Regions from separate parts of the Homo sapiens genome. Here all the other regions are linked to region 3. Evidence: promoter capture Hi-C in human tissues and cell types (Jung and others, 2019). All regions are on one chromosome and are shown on one strand. The core of a region is centred on a gene start or on the middle of the fragment in contact, and the rest is flanking DNA. Distances in the headings are between cores, read along the strand shown.

What was found. Contacts are between HindIII fragments. The study calls those that stand out against the background at their distance.
Region 1: a fragment that was not itself captured here is called in contact with the fragment with the promoter of PSMC6 in region 3 in 1 of the 25 tissues and cell types used here (dorsolateral prefrontal cortex).
Region 2: a contact is called between a fragment that was not itself captured here and the fragment with the promoter of PSMC6 in region 3, in 1 of the 25 tissues and cell types used here (aorta).

What each region holds. Positions count from the first base shown.
Region 1 is chr14:54,344,917-54,347,616 of GRCh38, reverse strand. No RefSeq gene overlaps it. Among named protein-coding and RNA genes, the nearest start is that of CDKN3, 51 kb to the left of the region's middle. The HindIII fragment of the contact is 4,115 bases long and covers 1-2,700 here.
Region 2 is chr14:51,646,112-51,648,811 of GRCh38, reverse strand. It overlaps a transcript of FRMD6 not described here. Among named protein-coding and RNA genes, the nearest start is that of FRMD6-AS1, 4.3 kb to the left of the region's middle. The HindIII fragment of the contact is 6,050 bases long and covers 1-2,700 here.
Region 3 is chr14:52,705,859-52,708,558 of GRCh38, reverse strand. PSMC6 (proteasome 26S subunit, ATPase 6) reads right to left here and starts at 1,359. Exons shown (of 14, transcript NM_002806.5): 1 at 1,255-1,359; 2 at 171-250; 3 at 37-76. The coding sequence starts at 1,339. RefSeq lists enhancers at 999-1,048, 1,069-1,318, 1,619-1,678, 1,699-1,808. The HindIII fragment of the contact is 7,628 bases long and covers 1-2,700 here.

The sequences.
Region 1 (2,700 bases), core at 36-2,535, 1.6 Mb before region 3:
GAGCTCTTCCGTGCATCTTCCAAAGGCTGGCTCCTTCCCATTTCTCAGTCCTCTGGTCATAGAAACCCCTTGGAGGGAACTTTTTTGACTACCTCATCTAAAATAGGCCCGGCCCCAGCCAGCTTTTCTTTTTTAATTAAAAATTTAATTGTGATATAATTCACATAAGATTTCACAAAACACCACATTCACCATTTAAAAGTGTACGATTCAATGGTTTTCGGTATATTCACAATATTATACGGCCATCACCACTATCTAACTTCAGAACATTTCCATTGTCCCCAAAAGAAACCTCATACCATGAAGAAGTCACGGCCCACCTCGCATTCCTCCCAGCCTCTGGCATCCACTCATCTACCGTCTTGTCTGTATGGAATTGCCTGTGCTGGGTATGACACACCCACTTCTTTTTAAATGTTAAAGCACCCTGTTTGTTTCCTTCCTGGCATGGATGTATTTGCTCATTTACTTGTTTACCATTTATTCTCACAATCTATGAATAAGTCGCAGAGTTTCTTCACAATTCAGTCTGCCCAGCCTTAAAGTGAGCCCAGCCTTTCACCATAGGATCCAATCTATGTGGTGGTGCAACCACTTCTGGGGCTACTGTGGAAGAGACTCGTCTGTGGTAGCATGCCCTCCAAGAGTTCTTGAGGGCTCTATATCTTTTGAAGGATTTTCTGCTTTTCACTTGCAACCCACAGAGTCATAACTGATTTAATCACCTTCTTCAGAGTACTGCGTGCATTTGTAGAAGACTCTTTAAGGCCTGGGCTTCTTGCTGCAGCAATAAATACCAGTAACCTTTACAGAGCATGGGCCGTATGTCAGGCACAGGGATATGTGCTTCACTTGTATTTTTTCCACTTGGTTTTATTACAGTCCTGTGAAATAGGTATAATTATTGCATCCCATTTTAAAGATGAGAGAATTGAGGTTAAGGGAATTGGCACATTTTACTCAGCTAGTTTGTGGCAGAGTGGAGACTGGAGTCCCAGCAGTTAGACCTCCAGGGCTCATGCTCTTAACTATTCTGCTCTTTCTTCAGCCTCTCAGACTTCAGTCAAGTGTTAGCACGAAGTGACGGTGTGATGTTTGCATGCGGCATATGAATATTATTGCTCCTGGTAAGATTGTTTACGATGACATCATAGACAAAGAAATGTTTCCTTGAGTTCCTAGTATAGCAGCTGAGCAACAGTTTTTGTTATATGGGATTCTTTTCTGCCCTTTAGTTTGGGAAGTGACCAGCAAGGTGTCCTGGGAATGCCAGGGGGCTGTATAAGTCTTTGCGCATGGATGAAAGGAAGAGGCATGAGATGGAAGCTCATGCTTCCAGAGCAGATGGCCCTTGGAAGAACTTGGTTTCCTGCAGGAGGGTTGACTCCCAGGAGAACTACATCTCAACAGCTTAGCCATGTGTATTAGTCAGAGTTCTCTGGAGAAATATAACTAATACATGATATGTTTTATATATATATGTGTATATATATGTATATATATATATGTGTATATATATGTATATATATGTGTATATATGTATATATGTGTATATATGTATATGTGTGTGTATATATGTATATATGTGTATATATGTATATATATTCATATATATGTATATATATGTGTGTATATATATGTGTATATATATTTAAAGAGATTGATTTTTGAAGAATTGGCTTATGTGATTACAGAAGCTGGAAGTCCCAAATTTACAGGGTGGACCAGTAGGCTAGATAACCTGGGAAGAGCCAGTGCTGTGGTTCAAGTCTGAAGGCTGTCTGCTGCAGGATTTATACTTGCTCAGGAAAGGTCAGTCTTTTGTTCCATTTAGGCCTTCAGCTGATTGAATGAGGCCCACCCATATTATGGAGGGCATTCTGCTTTACTCAAAGTCCACTCATTTAATGTAAATCTCATCCAAAACCACTTTCACAGAAACATCCAGAATAATGTTTGACCACATATCTGGGCTCTGTGGCCCAGCCAAGTTGATATAACCATCAAGGTGAGGTACTCAGTGCTCAGGTCCAGTTCACCTAGGATCTAGGCTGGAAGGCAAGGAGGGCAGTGTTGTTGGGAGGGCATTCTACCTCCTACAAGGTGAGGGGAGTCTGGATCTCATCTACTGTAAGGGATGACCAGTCGGCTCTCCAAGGGTGGTTCTGGTGGAGAAAGATGTGTCTCAGCCATCTTGAGTTTGCCCGGAGACCAAGCACTTGTCAGAGACCCACCTTTGGGTTGGTGGGTAGAAGAGCAGATGGTCTTTGCACTTTCTCACTGGGTGGATCTCAGGGAGTAAGTGATTATTCACCCACAGAAGGCCCACTTGGTGCTAGCTTGAGCCGTCTCTGGATTGTATTCATCCATTCAACAAATACCTGCTGACTGTTTATTACATGCCAGGGCTCTTCTAAGTAGTGGGGATACAGCAGTGAACAGACAAAAATCTCTGTCCTCAAGAAATTTACATTCTGGGAGTGAGAAGAGACAGACATCTAAAGAAAATAAAGAAGTAAAGTAGTATGTTGTAGACCAGATAGTGATAAGTGCCATGAGGAAAAATAAAGGTGAGAGAGGAAATGGGGAATGCCGTGGTCAGTGGGGTGGGGGTTAAGGGGGGTAGGGGTTAGGGGTGCTGGTGGCTTGTACTGTGATGTAGGGTGGTCAGGGAAGGCCTCCCTGTATAAAAGGTGC
Region 2 (2,700 bases), core at 127-2,626, 1.1 Mb after region 3:
TCTATGAATTTATTGGGTTCTCCCATGCACCAGGCAAAGGGTTAGATTCAGAGATTCAAAAATAAAAATACTCCTTAATCTTATAGTAGATTAGGGGAACAGACACGTGAGTTAACAGTTACAACATAGTTAGTTCATGCTATGGTAGAGATACGCAGGAAGAATAGTGAGAAGGCCTAGGGAGGGAGAGCATCAAACATCCCCTGTGAACTGAGAAGGGAAGGATAAACAGAAGTTTGCCTGAGAACAAGTTGGTTGAGACAGTGCTCTCAAACTTGCAAGCACGTTGGAATTACCTAGAAACTTTCAAAAACTATTGATGCCTGTGTCTCAGGCATATAATTTAATTGGTCTGTGGTATGGCTTGGGCTTTGGAATGTTTTAAATATCCCCAGGTTATTTTAAGTGTAGGCATATGGCAGAGGACACAGAGTGAACAAGCACACAGAGCCATGCTTTTAAAGCATGATGGCCATAGCCTTATTTTGAGAGGTGTAAACTTTGGTAGGTGGTATTTGTACATTTTGGTGTAAAGAACACAGTAATATAGAAAATGAGATAAGAACTGCTGTAATTCACATTCCTTTACAGGTATTTTCTAGACACCAGGATAGTATGTTGACAATTAAGATTAGCATATTAGAAGAAAAAAAATTATTTTTATCTTTTGTATAATTCAGGCTTATTGGCTGGGCGCGGTGGCTCATGCCTGTAATCCCAGCACTTTGGGAGACGGAGGTGGGCAAATCACCTGAGGTCAGGAGTTCGAGACCAGCCTGACCAACATGGAGAAACCCCATCTCTACTAAAAATACAAAGTTAGCCAGGCATGGTGGCACATGCCGGTAATCCCAGCTACTCAGGAGGCTGAGGCAGGAAAATCGCTTGAACCTGGGAGGCGGAGGTTGCAGTGAACTAAGATCGCGCCATTGCACTCCAGCCTAGGCAACAAGAGCAAAACTCCATCTCAATAAATTAATTAATTAATAATAATAATAAATCAGGGCTATCCAGCATTCAGAGTATGTTTTAATGCTGATATGTAAGTTCTAGTCTAAGAGAGAAGTCAGTGATTTAACATACTGGCTTTTAAAGAATACTTTTCCAGAATTAAATACCGTTCATCATTCTGGCTGAAGGTCATAATAAAGAAATTAAGTTCATTTTTCTTTTTGGTAATTACTGAGATTCATTTTAAAAGCAAAACAAAAAGTACTTTAAACAAACAAAATAAATTTAATTAAGTCCTACTTTAAGGTTTTAGATGTCCCTGTAGCTAATGAAAGAAAATAATCTCACATGGAAACTTAAATAGTTTAGTGTTATGGTCCTGATTTTCACTGCCTAACATTTAAAATGCTCTTTTTATTATTCTCAGCTAGTAAAATAAAGTACCCAAAGAGACTTTAATGCTTAAGAAAAGTCAGGAAAATTGATTATCATTCATTTAACCCAGCTGTCTAATTACCATACACCGGGAGCCCCTAACCAGGAATACGCATAATTATTTTTCAGAGGCAGCATAGCACGGGGCTTATGTAGCAATCTAACTCAAGAAGATTTACTTTTACCCAATTTATAGAAATACAGAGTTGAAAAAATTAAATTCATTAAATTCTATTCTCCTGATCATCAAATTTTGAAAAAAAAATATGTAAAAGTAGAATAACTTGATTATCCAGGGTCAAAGTTTCATTTTAATATGGTTTACAGGGGATGTATTTAAAGAACTACTTTGTTTCCATTCTATTATGGCTTTAATTTCACCACAAACATCACAATTCCCATTCCTTGAGGGCTTGAATACTAGAATACTCCAGATGTAATAAGAAAGGTTTGATAAGGCTGGAAGGGCCAGACCCTGCCCCTTGCTCTTGGGAAGGTGTTGCACAATGTAGAGAGAGGGCCCATCGTAGAGAATTACACTGGCGTCTTGGAGTTGAAAGGCATAGCGGCAAGGCAGTGCTAGGTTAAGGGATACTGCTACTAACTAAAATATAGTTGAGGAATTATGTATAAACATGGGATTGCTGCCTTATGCATGAGACTTTACCTTATACAGAAGACTGAAGATAGAAGAGCTCTAGTACAGAAAAATGTCAAGCAGAAGGGCAGGACAAAGGGTGGATTCCCTACAGTATGAAACTTAACTCATGTATTCTGTTTGTGTGATATACAATGGGTCTTAAAGGTTCCAGAGTAGTTTTGCAGCTCTGATTCTTTGATCACTCACTGAAAACCTGGGGGAAAAAAAAGCTTACCCCAGAGTTGGGAGGCAATTCCCTCCACTCCCATTAGGATACGCAAGAAGAAAGGAAGCAGCAATCTATCTGGTGACAGACTGGTTACTCTTTGACTTATGTCTCAGGCACGCTCTGATTATCTGAGATAATATTCTCAGAGGATTCCTTTGAAACACTAGTGATAACATTATGGAGGTCTTGGGCCACTGAGGTTCTCTTCAGTGGGTTTTTTTTTTTTTTTTTTTTTTTTGGATATGGAGTCTCGCTGTGTCGCCCAGGCTGGAGTGCAGTGGCGCGATCTCGGCTCATTGCAACCTCTGCCTCCTGGGTTCAAGCGTTTCTCCTGCCTCAGCCTCCCGAGTAGCCGAGACTACAGGCGCGTGCCACCACCCCCAGCAAATTTTCTGTATTTTTAGTAGAGACGGGGTTTCGCTGTGTTAGCCAGGATTGTGTCGAT
Region 3 (2,700 bases), core at 110-2,609:
TTTCTTTACTAATTAATAAGCTAATTCATCACTCACATTTTTCTTCAGTTAACTGTTTAAGCACTTCACCCACGATCTAAGGAAGAAAATAAAAAGCATTACTTTTTGGCAACAGCTAAATAAAAAAGCAAATTACCATCACCCCCTATTCCCCAAACTCCATCACCTACCTGCCCAACACTCTGTAGGGCCTTCAGATCATTTTCAGACTTTTCATACTGCTTGGTAAGTTCTTTTAATTGTTCCCTTACTGAAATAATACAATTTGAACATTTTTAATTGAACAGTAATCTTAGTGTGTTTAAGTCGCTACGTCTCACTTTACTGTTTACGTAAGTCTACTTCACTTTACCTAAGTTTCACATCCACTGTTTCAAACCATAAAAGAAATAATGCTGTTTGTAATGAGTAGGTGGCATGTATAACAACAAAATGTTACAGAGAAAGCACCATACTTTTACTTTGTTGATCGGCAATACTTGTTTAAGCACATCTTAAGTTATAGTCTTAGAAGATATTGACACCCTGACACTTAGGATTTGCGACTACAAATCCGAATGATAATCACTTAGACCCTTCCTCACCTCTTCACCTACCCACGTGGATTGTTCTCTGACATTCTACCCTAAATAAAGTCAACAAATGCAGTTCTCCACAGAATCATGTAATTATGGTCCTCCATTTAATTAAACTACTCATGCTTTTCAATGAAAATGCACTGGAAAAAAAAGTTAAGCACTCAGGAGGTAAGGGAAATTTGTATGCCTGATACAGTACAACACGAAACACAAGACGATATGGGTTATTATGACAACTGGAACACTTCTCTCTTAAGCTCCGCGGCCGTCTTTCGACTCCAAGAACAAGCCGACTCCCTGAGTCTCATCTCTTGTTTGAGCTTACTTGACTCAAGCGCCTTCCCCTCTCCAAGTCCCGGGACTCCACCAAGACTGCCCTTCTTGCACCCTAACCTGGGAAACATCCTCGGCCCACTTCCCCACTCCTCCTCTACTTCTTTTTCATTTTCACCTCAAGGCCGCCGATGTTCTGTCACCCGGGCTGGACTGGGCCATTTCTACACCCGAAGGAGTGCTGCTCCACAAGCTCAGGGCCGGATGACAAAGCGCCTTGTCCCTGGCCCTAGGCCTGGTCATCTCTAAGGCTCGGTTGCCGGGCTCGGCGAAAGGCTTCTGCTTTGTCAGAGGCAGAAGCGAGTCGAGGCACTTGATTAAATGGAAAGAAAGGTGCACTCACACTCCTTAAGACGGCCGTCGATCTCCTTGTGTTCAAGCAACTTCTTGCGGTAGTCCTGAAGCGCCTTATCTCTAGGGTCCGCCATGATGAGAAGCCGTCTCTCATAGGGGATGCCGGGAATGGCCATGGCCGTCCGGGCGGGGGAAGGGGCGGGGCGAGGGGCGAAACCCTGCCTGGAGGGGTGGGTTCGCCCATGAGCCCTCCCCTTCCGGTTGGCCCCGTCTTTCTACTCCACTTCCACCTCTATGTCTCGGTTCACCTAGAGCGCCGGCATACACTGAAAGAGGCCTCCACCTATACCGTTTCTTGCAAGCCGAGATAGGTAAAGCAGGACTCAGTTATCCCGGTCTTCCCCTGAGAGGCCTCAGTATTAAGTCACTGCTGTCCCGGAAGTATAAAAGGCTCTGTAATAAACTGAGATGGAAGTGAAGTAGGAAATGTGTAATACCTCAAAGGAGTTCCGATGGCCTGTCGACACAACACAGATGGCCTTTGTTATAACACAGTACTGTCCAAGACCTCCACGTGCTGGAGAAGTAGACAGTTTTATTCATCCATTCAGTCAGTGAATGAGGTATTAAAGGTAGATCTGCTTATCATTTGATAGGAAATAATAATAAAAAAAACTTCAGAGTTTAACAAATACTGTGAAGGAATTAAAACACGGTGAGAAGTATGGTGGGAAGAATTAATCTAGAACAGATATCTGAGATGAGAAGGAGCCAGCCTTGCAACAACTGAAGAAAACCTAAACAAACAGTGCAAGTCCTGGAGTGGAGTGGGGTGGGGGTTGTGGGTAGAAAGCTTGACTCACTTCCAGGAACAGAAAGGAGGCCAATGAGACCAGTAGGGGGTGGGTTGTAGAGATGTGGGGTACAAGATAAAGATGCTGAAGTAGGCTGAGGCAGGAACTTTGAAGTCTGATAGAACCTTCAGATTTATGTATTTATTTATTTACTTTTGAGATGGAGTCTTGCTCCTGCCGCACAGGCTGGAGCGGTGACGCGATCTCAGCTCACTGCAACCTCCACCTCCCGGGTTCAAGCAATTCTCCTTCCTCAGCCTCCGGAGTAGCTGGCATTACAGGTGTGCGCCACCACAACCGGCTAATTTTTGTATTTTTAGTAGAGACGGGGTTTCGCCATGTTGGCCATGCTGGTCTCGAACTGCTGACTTCAGGTGATCCACCCTCCTCAGCCTCCCAAAGTGCTAGGATTACAGGTGTGAGGCACTGCGCCCGGCCAGATTTTTTTTTTTTTTTTTTTTTTTTTGAGTCTGTGTCTCACTCTGTCACCCAGGCTGCAGTGTAGTGGTGCGATCTTGGCTCACTGCAACCTCTGCCTCCCGGGTTCAAGCGATTGTCGTGCCTCACCCTCCTGAGAAGCTGGGATTACAGGCGCCCGCCACCACGCCCGGCTCATTTTTGTATTTTCAGTAGGAATGGGG